Linked DNA regions of Homo sapiens: region 2 is linked to region 1. The links are contacts of gene promoters, found by promoter capture Hi-C in blood cells and fetal thymus (Javierre and others, 2016). All regions are on one chromosome and are shown on one strand. Each heading gives the region's core, a stretch centred on a gene start or on the middle of the fragment in contact. The rest is flanking DNA. Distances are from core to core; before and after follow the strand shown.

Region 1 (7,259 bases), core at 468-2,967:
CTGCCCAGCACACTTCCTGTGAGTTTTTTTTTCTTAAGTTTCCTCCAGATCTGGGGATTTATTTTGCTTTTAAATCTCAGCAGTGGAAAGGCAGAAGAGGAAATCCCAGATGAGACACTACTATTTGGCAGTCTTAAGAATTATGGTTGTATTGTCGTTTTGGTTTAACTTTTTACCACAGATATTTTCAAACATTCTCAAAAGTGCAGAGAATATATACGTGAACTTCCTTGTATCCATTACTCAGCTTTGACAATTATCTCCCATGTTTACTTTGAAGGCAGGAGAATTTATTAACTCACAGAGAAGAGGTTTCTTAATGTTACCATTATCATAATGGCTAGTGGTTTCTATGTTTTAACTCACGGCTGTCCAACCTTTTGGCTTCCCTGGGCCACGCTGGAAGAACTATCTTGGGCCACACATAAAATACACTACCATTAATGATGAGCTAAAAAAAAAGAGGCAGGGGGGTTGTTCATGCATAATTTTCATGATATCTGCCACCATAGATTAAAGTCCTCGCATTCAAATGCTTCAACACGGTTGTTTAACTGTTTAATATATGACTGCTTGCCTGCCTGTACTGCCTTTGCCCACTGGCTTTCAACTGGGGTGATTTTTGCCCCCATGGGGACATCGGCAATGTCTGGAGACATCTTGACTGTCACAACTTGGGAGTGGGGGGATTGCTGGTGGGTGGAGTCCAGGTATGCCACTGAACTTGCTTCAATGCACAGGTGAGACCTCCCGAAACAGAATTATGTGGCTCAAAATGTCAACTGAGCTGCTGTTGAAAAATCCTATCTTAGCTAATATCCCCACTTTAGGAATGAGGAAATTGAAGCTTGGAGTGGTTAACTTGCCTTTTATAAGTTTCAACCCAGGCAGTCTGAATCAGGGACCCTGCCTGCTTAACCATTACCCTATATACACCTACGACTAGAACCAGTCCCCTGATTTGAATTCAAACACGTCATTTTTCCAGACAGACAAAAATGAGGCCCAGAGAGGGGAAGAGACTTGCCCAAGGTCACACAGTGGAGGAGTAGGGCTAGAACCCGGGACTCCTGCGTCCTGGTCCAGTGTTCCCTCCGCGGGCTTTGCTTCTGCCTCTACAGAGGACCCAACTGGCCAGCGCTGGGGAAAGGGCCTAGGGGAAGAGGTTCAGCTACCATCCCGCTGTCCGCTGGGGCAGCCTGACCCAGGCACAAGACTCCTGTGGGGTCACCTAAGGGCGCCAGGGAGAAGAGCGAGGGAGGGAGGAAGAAGGAGGCAGGACAGCTGGCTCCAGCTCCACGTGCTCCCAGCCCCTGGCTGGGAGCCCACGTGAGGGTCGCCCTAAGAAGTCGGGGGCGAGGAGAGAGGGTGCAAAGCCCCGGCCCGGGCTGGACGGAGAGAAGCGCGGTGGAGACTTCCCTGCGCCCCCTCTGGGCCCGTACGGCCCACCTCCCACACCAGAGTGCTGCGCCGCAACCCCTTACTCCGCGTCCTCTGACCCCTGATCCCTGCCCTCTCCCTCGGGCCAAGCCGTCGCATCCCTCGGATTCTTACACGCGCCGCCCCAGCAACCCGGACCGCGCGCCGGGGTCCGCACCGCGCAGCCTAGCCCGCCGGCGCCGCCGCCAAAACCCCGAGCCCGAAGCTGTTGCAGCCGCCGCAGCCGCCGAAGCCGCCGCCACTTCAGCCACTGCCACCAGGGCAGCTGCGCCAGCTCTCCTATCCACCGCCTACCGTCCTCTCAACCCCGCTGGCCCCGCCCCATTTCCCCTTCACAGCGTCCTACTGGCTAACTGGGCTACCGTGATGAACTCTGATTGGCCAACTATCACGTCCTTCCGCAGGTCTCGCCCGCCGCCGATGCGGTACTCCCTGCCCGCCTCCTTAAGAAGGGGCGGGACGAAGAATCCACGCCCCTTACTCCTCCCTTGTTCCCCGCCTTACTCGTTGAGTCCAACCCAGAGGGAGTCCCAAGTCTTTCCATTGGTGAAAGGTCAAAATGGCGGTGCTTCTGATTGGTCAGACTTCAGGAGGTGGGGACAACTGAGCGGAACAATAAATTGAATGGTGAAAAGAAAGGTCAGTCAGACACCGAGTCTCGCCTTCTGAGATTGGCGGGTAACCTAGCAACGCAGGGACCGCGGCGGTAACTGTGGCTAGGGAAACCTGGAGCGGTCAGAGCAGGTGAGTAGCCAGTTGGGAAAGGGTCGCGGATCGGGGGAGATGTGGAATAGGGTTCAGCCCTCTGTCCTTTGGCTCCCTGAGGAATTAGAAGCCCCCGCTGCGATCTCGTCTCAGCTTCAGGACCCTGTCCCTCAGCTCCTGCCTTAGTCTGGACCTTTCGCTCCACAACCTGCAGGGAGCCGGCCTCCATTCTGCCCTTCTACCTGCCCACTTCATGGCTCCACTCCCTCATCCCTAAAACGAGGAGGACAACAGTCAAGCAGAGTCATATCGTAGTTAACTTATTTCAAGTCAAACATGGGAGCTGTGGGTGGGAGGGGAGTTTATAAGTCCCCTCCCATTTCACCCAACGGCCATACGTTCCTCGGTGAGCAGGCAATCTCACTTCAGTGTTTAAATTAGGTAGTTTTGTTTGTTTGTTTTGTTGTTGTTGTTGTTGTTTTTGCCGAGCATGGTGGCTCACGCCTGTAATCCCAGCACTTTGGGAGGCCGAGGCGGGCAGATCACTTGAGGTCAGGAGTTCTAGGCCAGCCTAGCCAGTATGGTGAAACCCCATCTCTACTGAAAATACAAAAATTAGCTGAGCATGGAGGCGCACCTGTAATCCCAACTACTCGGGAGGCTAAGGCACGAGAATCACTTGAACCCGGGAGACTTAGGTTGCAGTAAGCCAAGATAGCGCCATTGCACTCCAGCCCGGGCAACAGAGCAAGACTCTGTCTCAAATAAATAAATAAATTAGGTAATTTTTATTACACCACTTTTGCCTTTATCCTAACTTTGGAATTTAACTCCCATCTCCATCCTTAAGATGTGATCTCATTGTACCTACTGAAGACAGAGAGTTTCTTGTGATGATTAAATGAGGCTAAGGGCCGGGCGCGGTGGCTCAGCCTGTAATCCCAGCACTTTGGGAGGCCGAGGCCAGCAGATCACCTGGGCCAGCAGATCACCTGAGGCCAGGAGTTTGCGACTAGCCTGGCCAACATGGTGAAACCCTGTCTCTACTAAAAATACAAAAATTAGCCGGGCCTGGTGGCGTGTGCCTGTGATCCCAGCTACTCAGGAGGCTGAGCGGGAGAATTTCTTGAACCCGGGTGGTGGAGGTTGCAGCGAGCCGAGATCGTGCCACTGCACTCCAGTCTGGGTGATAGAGCGAGACTCCAGCTCAAAAAATAAATAAATAAATAAATAAATAAATAAGGCTGAGGTGGGAGAATTGCTTGATCGCAAGAGGCGGAGGTTGCGGTGAGCCATGATTGCACTACTGCACTCCAGCCTGGGCGACAGAGCGAAAAACCCTGTCTCAAAAAAATATATAAAAAAAAAACTTTGAGGTTCAAAAGATATTTTCATAAGAAAATGAAAAGATCAGCCACAGACACAGACATGGAGGAAATATTTGCAAATCATGTGTCATAAAAGAGTTGTATATAGAATATAAAAATAACTCTTATAACTCAATAAGAGGACAACTCAATTTTTTTAATGGGCAAAAGAGTTGAGTAGACATTTAAAAATCAAAAAGACAATACCAAGTATCATCATGTAGATAAATAAACAAACTGTAGCTTTCATATGTTGCCGGTAGGTACAGCAGAATACCAATTGGTACCACCAATCTGAAATATAGTTGGCAGTTTCTTAAAAAGTTAAACATAGGCCAGGCACAGTGGCTCGTGCCTGTAATCCCAGCACTGTAGGAGGCACAGGCAGGTGGATCACCTGAGGTCAGGAGTTCGAGACCAGCCTGGCCAACATAGCAAAACCCCGTCTCTACTAAAAATACAAAAATTAGCAGGGCATGCTGGCGGGTCCCTGTAATCCCAGCCATTTGGGAGGCTGAGGCAGGAGAATCACCTGAACCCAGGAGGCGGAGGTTGCAGTGAGCCGAGATCGTGCCACTGCACTCCAGTCTATGTGACAGAGTGAGACCCTGTCTCAAAAATAAATAAATAAAACAAAAAATAAACTTACACATAACCTAGCAATTCCACTCTTAGGAAGTTACCCCTCCCAAGTGAAAACATAAGTCCACACAAAGACTTAAATATAAATGTTCTTAGCAACATCACCCTTAACAGCCCAAAACTGGAAACAACCCAAATGTCATCAACAGGTGAATAAATAAATAACTCATGATATTTCCTTAGAATGGAATACTATTCAGCAATAAAATACTATTCAGGAATGAAATACTAATAATTGCTACAACCTGGATGAACCTCAAAAACATGTTAAGTTGAGGGTTTTTGGCCCAGTGGCTCACGCCTGTAATCCCAGCAATTTGGGAGGCCAAGGCAGGAGGATCCTAGTTTGAGCCTAGGAGTTTGAGCCTAGGAGCCTGGTAACAAAGTGAGACCCTATCTCTACAAAAAATACAAAAATTAGCCAGGCATGGTGGTATGCACCTGTAGTCCCAACTATTCAGAAGGCTGAGGTGGGAGGATCACCTGAGCCTGGGGAGGTCAAGGCTACAGTAATCCATGGTTGCACTGCTGCACTCTAGCCTGCGTGACAGAGTAAGACCCTGTCTATTAAAAAAAAAAGGCAGCCGGGCACGGTGGCTCACGCCTGTAAATCCCAGCACTTTGGGAGGCCAAGGCAGGCAGATCACCTGAGGTAGGGAATTTGAGACCAGCCTGACCAACATGGAGAAACCCCGTCTCTACTAAAAATACAAAAAAAAAAAATTAGCTGCGCGTGGTGGCGCATGCCTGTAATCCCAGCTACTTGGGAGGCTGAGGCAGGAGAATCGCTTGAACCCAGGAGGCAGAGGTTGCAGTGAGCCGAGATCACGCCATGGCACTCCAGCCTGGGAAACGAGAGCAAAACTCCATCTCAAAAAAAAAAAAAAAAGGTCAGGGTTTTTCAACCTCAGCTCTATTGATGTTTTGGGTGAGAAAATTCTTTGTTGTGGGGAACTATCCTGCCAATTGTAGGATATTTAGCAATATTACGAGCCTCTACCTACAAGATGCCAGTAGTAGCCTCTCTCAGTTGTGACAAGCAAATGCATCTCCCGATTATTGCCAAATGTCTTCTGGAGGGCAAAGTTGCCCCAGGTTGAAAACCACTGTGCTAAGCAAAAAGTCAGATGCAAACAATTACATACTGCATGATCCCATTTATATGAACTATCCAGGAAAGTTACATATGAGTGGAGGCCAGGGGCAGTGGCTCACGCTTGCAATTCCAGCACTTTGGGAGGCCAAGGAAGGTGGATTACTTGAGCCCGGGAGTTCAAGACCAGCCTGGGCAACATGCTGAAACCCTGTCTCTCCTAAAAACGTAAAAATTAGCCAAGCGTGGTAACACGCACCTGTAATCCCAGCTACTTGGGAGGCTGAGGCACGAGAATTGCTTGAACCAGGGGGGTGGAGGTTGCAGTGAGCCGAGATTACGCCACTGCACTCCAGCCTGGGCGACAGAGCGAGACTCAGTTTCAAAAACAAAACAACCACAACAAAAAATGTGAGTGGAAGCAGAGATTGTTTGCAGATTAGCTCATGGGAATTTGGGGGGAGTGATAGAAATGTTCTAAAACTGGATTGTAGTGATGTGGCAACTTCAGATACATTTACAAAAATAGTCACTGAGTTTTACACTTACAATGGGTGAATTTTATGGTAATGTAAATTATACCTCAATAGAGCTGTAAAAAAAAAAAAATTACACGTGTGATTAGTACTATGCAGGAAAGGTGAGAGAGTTTCCACAGGTTGTAAAGTGCTGTCTGTTCCAGTCTGAGGAGGGGTAGCCATTGAGCTAAGACCTAAAGAATGAGAAATTGTTAATCTAGGGAGAAATTATTCCTGGGGGGTTGGTTTCTGACAAAAGGAACATTATACATTAGTGCCTGAGAGCAGGACGGGTTTGAGATAGGCTGTTTTTTGTTTTGTTTTTTTGAGACAGAGCCTTTCTCTGTTGCCCAGGCTGGAGTGCAGTGGTGCAATCTCAGCTCACTGCAACCTACGCCTCTTGGGTTCAAGCGATTCTCCTGCCTCAGCCTACCAGGTAGCTGGAATTACAGGTGCCCAACACCATGCGCTGCTAATTTCTGTATTTTTAGTAGAGACTGGGTTTCACCATGATAGCCAGGCTTGGTCTCGAACTCTTGACCTCAGGTGATCCACCCACCTCGGCCTCCCAAAGTGCTCCCAAAGTCCTGTAATCCCAAAGATTACAGGAGTGAGCCACCGCACCCAACCCTGTTTCGTTTAATTTTAACTCTAGTCCCAGTTGGCAAACTGATTTCACTGCCCAGTAAAGGGTTACAACCTTAAGATTTTATTTTTTAAGCAGTTTTAGATTCACAGCAAAATTGAGAGAAAGGTAGAGAGAGTTCCTACATACCCCCTATTCCCACATGCACAGCCTGCCCCACCGTCAACCTCCCCCACCAGAGTGGTGCATTTGTTACAGTTGATGAACCTACATTGACACATCAGCAGCAGCATCCAAATTCCATAGTTTACATAAGGGATAAGGGTTCACGCTTGGTGTTGTACATTCTGTGAATTTGGACAAATGTATAATGATGGTATCCATCATTGTAGTAAGGTACATAGTATTTTCACTGCCCTAAAAATCCTCCCTGTTCTGCCTATTCATCCCTCCCTTCCCCCAGCCCTTAGACAACACTGATCTTTTTACTATCTCCATAGTTTTGCCTTTGCCAGAATGTCATATAGTTGGAGTGATACCATATGCAGCTTCTTCAGATTGGCTTCTTTCACTTAGTGATATGCATTTAAGTTTCTTCCATGTCTTTTCGTGGCTTGACAGCTCATTTCTTTTTAACACTGAATAATCCTGTATTCCATTGTCGGGATGCCCCACTGTTTATCTACTCAGCTCCTGAAGGACATCTTGGTTGCTTCCAAATTTTGGCAGTTGTGAATGAAGCTGCTATAAATATCCATAAGCTTTTTGTGTGTGCAGGTTTTTGTGTGCACATGAGTTTTCAACTCCTTTGGGTAAACACCAAGGAGTGCAATTACTGGATCGTACAGTAAGAGCAGGTTTAAATTTGTAAGAAAACAACTGTCTTCCCAAGTGGCCGCACCATGTTG
Region 2 (6,222 bases), core at 347-2,846, about 12 Mb before region 1:
TGCAGATCACCTGAGGTCAGGAGTTCGAGACCAGCCTGGCCAACATGCTGAACCCCCCCCCATCTCTACTAAAAATACAGAAATTAGCAGGCGTGGTGGTGCACGCCTGTAGTCCCAGCTACTCGGGAGGCTGAGGCAGGAGAATCGCTTGAACCCAGGAGGCGGAGGTTGCAGTGAGCCCAGATCATGCCACTGCACTCCAGCCTGGGCGACAGAGCAAAACTCTGTCTCAAAACAAACCAACCAACCAAAAACTAAAAGCCTCTCGCACTCCCGTGTGTATTGCAGCTTTATTCATAAGTGCCTAGATGTGTCCGTCAACAGATACATGGATAGAGAAAATGTGTACATACGCAATAGAATACTATTCGACCTTAAAAAAATACAAAACAAAATGAAATCCTGTCATTTTTCCTCTACGAAACAAAAATAAAAACATGGCTAAGTTTGGGCGACATTACATAAAGTGAAATAAACCGGGCACAGAAAGATAAATACTGCATGATCTCACTCACGTGCGGAAGCTGAAATAGTTGGTCTCACAGAGAGAATAGTGGTTACTGCAGGTAGTGAAGGTGGGGGGAGGTGGGATAGCCAAAGGGGGGTTACTGGATACAAAAGTACAGCTGAATAGGAGGAATAAGTTCCAGTGTCCCTATAGAGTGAATACAACAACTTATTGTACGTTTTCAAATAGCTGGAAGCGTGGATTTTTAATGTCTCCCAGCACAGAGAAATGATACATGTTTGAAGGGATGGATGTGGTCATTGCCCTGATTTGAACATTACAAATTGTGTACATAGATCACAACATCACACCACACCTCATAAATGTGCACAATTGTTATGCGTCCAAACAATAATAAAAACCAAAAATAAAAATGAAACACGTGGAAACAGGAAAAACGCCTTTAAGAATAGAGTATAGCAAGGACTTCCAAAAGCAAGTACAGGAAAGGGAGGGGGATGTAGCTCAGTGGTAGAGCGCATGCTTTGCATGTATGAGGCCCCGGGTTCGATCCCCGGCATCTCCATTGTAGTTTTGTTGCTTTCTGTATTCGTTTTGGTCCGTGGTTCTTTATCATTAAAGTGCCATGGATGTGATTATCATAAGCATTGTGATTCCAGGCACTACTTGGAGCTCAGATTCTCACACCAGGTGTGATCTTCCCATTCTGAAATCTCTAATGTTTCAAATGCACATGAGTTAGAAGAGGCTGATGGGAGTAATCAGCAGAAAAGTGTTAAGGCAAAACCTGACTTGATGACTGAAACCACAGCAAAAGTGAGCAGGATGATCATTTGGGGAGTGTACACCACATCTCGTGCCACCATGATTGTACTGCACTGGCCTCGAGGGCTGTTGACGCATTCTTGGCCATCAGAGGGCAAGTGTGTAAGTTGCTGGAAGGTCTGGGCCCCCCTGTTTGCCATCTCACTCCTCCTCTGCACTGCCACGAACCACCTCATTTGCATGGGAGGAACCCAGAAGCAAACTCACATCCCAGCGGGGCTTTGCTCTCTGCTTCCTCAGCAACACGTCTCCACGGCTGTAATGCAAGTGCAATTTACATTTATATTCATACACTGTGTTCCGGGGTGAGCAGGCCTATGCAAACCTACCCCAAAGGCCAAGGGAGCTGAGAGGCCAAAGAAAGGGGTTGACAAACCCAGTTTCTCAGGAAAAAACATTTATTAGGGACTTACCAACAGAAGCCATAGTCTCAGGGTGGTCATCAGAGGATATAAGGTTTGCTGCGCCATAACCCCCGGCCCAGGGCTTCCATACCATAGGGAAGGAATATATGTAGGACAATTGAAGTTGACCCCTCAAGCAAGGCAAGAATGTTATGTGAATCCGCATAAGGGAAGGATTTATGATCTAGGTTGTTCTGATCTAAGGGCAGAATTTATGGTAACAGTAAAGTAGAAATCTTAGAGACCTTCCTGGAAGAGGCATTAATCGGAAGTTATCTTGGTGGATTAGCAACCAAGATGGAGTTGCTTTCACCTCCACTGTGTTTCTGTGTTTTATCACTGAAAGCAAAAGATGGTGGCTCAGGCCTGTAATCCCAGCACTTTGGGAGGCATGAGGCAGGAGAATTGCTTGAGGCCAGGAGTTTGAAAGCAGCCTGGGCAACAAAGGGAGACCTTGGCTCGGAAAGGAAAGGAAAGGAAAGGAAGGGGAAGGGGAGGGAAAGGGGAAGGGGAGGGGAGGGGAGATTGATTTACTTGCATGAATGATCTTTAGGCAAAAATAAATACATAAAAATAAATTATATTTTTTAAAGTTTAACCAGTTCCCAGCTCTCTAAATAATAATAAGAATGAAAGAAGGGATTCGGCTGCATTCTGTGGTACAGTTCTTTGCAATTATAATGAATTCCTCACCTGTCAGCCCCTTTCTTTCATTTGACTTGACTTCATGTTTTAAATGGTAAAAGCGTCTAATCCTAGATCTAGAGCTTTCATTTTTGAGATGAAGAAAATGAAACTTGCGAACTGACTCACCAGTTAGGTGGTGACGCATTGGTGACAGCTTGTTTCTAATGAGCTTCAGGAAAGGTTATTTCTCCCTAAATGTCAACAAGGTTTTAGGGGAAAATCATTGAAGATAATTTCTGAAGTCATCAGGCCTAACACAAAACTTACATGCTTCTGTAACTGCCCAACAGTTTCTCCTTGCCCGCTGCCTAGACAGAGCCCATTTATTAGGACAGGGAAACTGTGATCCGCCCACCTCAGCCTCCCGAAGTGCTGGGATTACAGGCGCAAGCCACCTCGCCCTGCCATAATAGAGAACGTTTAATTCACACACAGCTGGCAGTGTGGGAGACGGGAGTTTTACTATTACTCAAATCAGTCTCCCTGAAAACTCAGGGATTGGAGTTTTGAAGGATAATTTGGTGTGTAGGGAGGTCGGGAAATCGGGAGTACTGATTGGTTGGGTCGGAGATGAAATCACAGGGAGTCGAAGCTGTCCCTTTGCCCTGAGTCAGTTCCTAGGTGGGGGCCACAAGACCAGATGAGCCAGTTTATCAATCTGGGTGGTGTCAGTCGGCCCACTGAGTGCAGAGTATGCAAAATATCTCAAGCACTGGTCTTAGGTTTTACAATAGTGATGTTATCCTCAGGAGCAATTTCAGCATGGACAGAATCTTGCAGTCTCCAGCTGCGTGACTCCTAAACCATAATTTGTAATCTTGTGGCCAATTTGTTAGTCCTGCAAAGCAGTCTAGTGCGCAGGCAGGAAGGGGGCTTGTTTTAGGAAAAGGCTATCACCTTTGTTTCAGAATTAAACTATAAACTAAGCTCCTCCAAAGTCAGTTCAGCCTACACCTAGGAATGAACAAAGACAGTTTGGAGGTTAGACGCGAGATGGAGTCAGTGAGGTCAGATCTCTTTCACTGTAATAATTTTCTGTTATGACTTTTGCAAAGGCAGTTTCACTTCTGTTTTACTTTGTTTCTTCTTTTGTTTATTTATTTATTTATTTTGCTTGAGACAGGGTCTGTTTCTGTTGCCCAGGCTGGAGTGCTGTGGTGCAATCACAGCTCACTGCAGCCTCAAACTCCTGGGCTCAAGTGATCCTCCCACCTCATCCTCCTGAGCAGCTGGAACTACAGGCATGCACCACCGCCTGGCTAATTTTTGTTTGTTTGTTTTGGTAGAGACAGGGTTTCACCATGTAGCTCAGCTGGTGTTTAACTCCTGGGCTGAAGTGACCCTCTCACGTTGGCCTCCCAAAAATGCTGGGATTACACGTGTAGGCCACCATGCCTGGCTATTTTTTTCAATATTTTTTATTTTTATTTTTTATTTCTTACTATGACCCCACACTTATATGACATTACTTTGTACCTTATAATTAAATATTTCAGCCAGGCACATTAGCTCATGTCTGTATTCCCAGCCCTGTGGGAGGCCAGGGCAGAAGGATCACTTGAGCCCAGGAGTTCAAGACCAGCCTGGGCAACATGGTGAAACCCCCATCTCTTATTTTATTTTTTGGAGACAGAGTCTCACTGTCACCCAGGCTGGAGTGCAGTGGCACGATCTCGACTCACTGCAACCTCTGACTTCAGGGCTCAAGTGATTCTCCTGCCTCAGCCTCTGGAGTAGCTGGGATTACAGGCGTGAGCTACCACACCTGATAATTTTTGTATTTTTAGTAGAGATGGAGTTTCAGCATGTTGGACAGGTTGGTCTCGAACACCTGACCTCAGGTGATCCACCGGCCTCAGCCTCCCAAAGTGCGAAACCCTCCTCTCTACAAAAAATGCAAAAATTAGGTGTGGTGGCGCATACCTGTAGTCCTACCTACACAGAAGGCTGAGGTGGGAGGATCACCTGATCCGGAACATCCAGGCTGCAGAGTGAGCCGTGATCATACCACTGCATGACAGAGCGAGATACTGTTTCAAAAAACAAAGAAACAAAGCCAAATATTTCTACTAGTGCATGACAAGGAAAAAAAATACCGCAGGGAGTTGTTATTGTTAAAGGTTGGTGTCAGGAATTGGAGCTTCCTAGAAATACTCTTTGAAAAAAGTGCTTTTTCAACTATTAAATTTTATTTTACCCTTAAACAAAGCTTATTATATGAGGTCACATGAGTTGTCAAATTCATAGAGACAGAAAGTAGAATGGTGGATGCCAGGGGCTGGTGGGAGGGAGAAATGGGGAATCAGTTTTTCATGGGGACAGAGTTTGTTTTGCAAGACGAAAAGAGCTCCAGAAATGGCTTGGTGGTGATGGCTGATGCACAATACTGAATGTACTTCATGCTACAGAAATGTACACTTAAGAATGGTAAATTTTATGTGTATTTTACCACAATTTTAAGACAAAACCAAACGACGACACAAACAAAGCCCAAATAGGTTAAATAACTTCCTAATGTTCCTAAAGTAGGCAAATTTGGAGACTAGCTAAGTCCGGTTTTGACCGCTGAGATGAATGGGTTATTTTTAAGCTGGAGCGGTTTGTGTTCCACCACACAGTTATACAGCACAAGCAGAAACAGGAAGAAGAACACATTCCCCAGGTTTTTTTTTTTTACTTCCTGTTTGCCAGGCCTCTAACCTGCAGGCGTCCTTGACAACCTTTTATGGTTATATAAGCGATGACAAAGCAAGGCAAACCCTTCCCACCACCTCTCTGATTCCACCCTTTTTCTTGGGGGAAGCAAGTTTGTTGACCCTCACTCATGCTCTCAGACAGTTTCATGGGGCTGGATTAAGTCACATACAAGGTGGTGAATTTCAGAAGGGGGAACTGAATCCTTAGGGGGAGGGGAAAAACGAAGGCGGAGGAGCAGGCGCTGATCCAACCCCGCCCTCCCCAGCTGCAGCCCAGCACCCCGGCCCTTTGTGAGCTCAGCTCATCACACGCTCCCTTCCGCCTGCCAATCCCGCCCTGTTGCTGGGCCTCTGTCCCTTCTCCATTGGTGCCAGCTCTGAAGCAATCTTTTCTGGGGCGCCTGCAAAGGACGGATCTGTGGGTGGAACGAACTGAAAACGGATCCAGTGACTCATCCCGATTCTTGCACATTCTAGCACATCGCATTCTAGGTCAGCAGGGTTTAGGTTTTAAGAGCGTGACTTGATACCTGACTCCTGAGTCCAAGTGGGACATTTAGACTTTGGGAACCCTTTCGGAAAACAGAAAAGCAGTTGTTGCAACAACAAAAATCCTTTGTAGGACAGGGTTTCTTAATTTCAGCACTATTAATATGTTGGGTCTGATAATTCTTTGTTGTGGGGGACTGTCCCTCATAGAATGTTCAGTGGCATCCCTGGTGTCTACCAACAGTGCTAGTATTAGTAGTAGCATCCCCTAACCTCCCCTGAGTTGTGACAACCAAGAATATCTCCAGATATTGCCAAATGTCCCCTGAAAGAGCAAATCACTCCTTGTTGAGAACCATTGTTGTAGAGAAACATCAGACACCTGCGTTTTGGGAGGCCATTTTCTTCCCTGTCACCTCAGTGACTTTGGAGAAAGGTTTATTTCTGTTTGCTTCAATAACCATTTAAGTCAGGGAATGCTGGGATGTTTTCAATAATTTTTTTCTGCTAGAGACAACATTGGTTTCTCTTTGCAGCTAACCTTTGGCCCATTACCCACCCTACCCTCATCCCCTCTTCTTCCTTTTTCCTCCTCCTGTCCTCCTCTCCCGCCCCTGCCTCTGCAGTTAGGGCTGTTTTTTCTCTGTACCTT

What was found. Contacts are between HindIII fragments. The CHiCAGO score rates a contact against its expected background, and 5 or more counts as called.
Region 2: a contact is called between a fragment that was not itself captured here and the fragment with the promoter of TPCN1 in region 1, in 1 of 17 cell types (neutrophils). The highest score is 6.4, in neutrophils.

What each region holds. Positions count from the first base shown.
Region 1 is chr12:113,215,922-113,223,180 of GRCh38, reverse strand. It overlaps TPCN1 (two pore segment channel 1), which reads right to left and starts at 1,717. Exons shown (of 28, transcript NM_017901.6): 1 at 1,555-1,717. It overlaps DRC10 (dynein regulatory complex subunit 10), which reads left to right and starts at 2,087. Exons shown (of 5, transcript NM_001330452.2): 1 at 2,087-2,184. RefSeq lists a silencer at 1-17 and an enhancer at 2,339-2,488. The HindIII fragment of the contact is 6,265 bases long and covers 850-7,114 here.
Region 2 is chr12:124,916,567-124,922,788 of GRCh38, reverse strand. TRA-TGC3-2 (tRNA-Ala (anticodon TGC) 3-2) reads left to right here and starts at 963; the gene lies at 963-1,034. RefSeq lists enhancers at 1,168-1,487, 1,054-1,732, 1,568-1,757, 4,963-5,172, 5,383-5,652 and 3 more, a cis regulatory region at 1,342-1,512 and silencers at 3,586-3,735, 6,143-6,202. The HindIII fragment of the contact is 6,001 bases long and covers 1-4,596 here.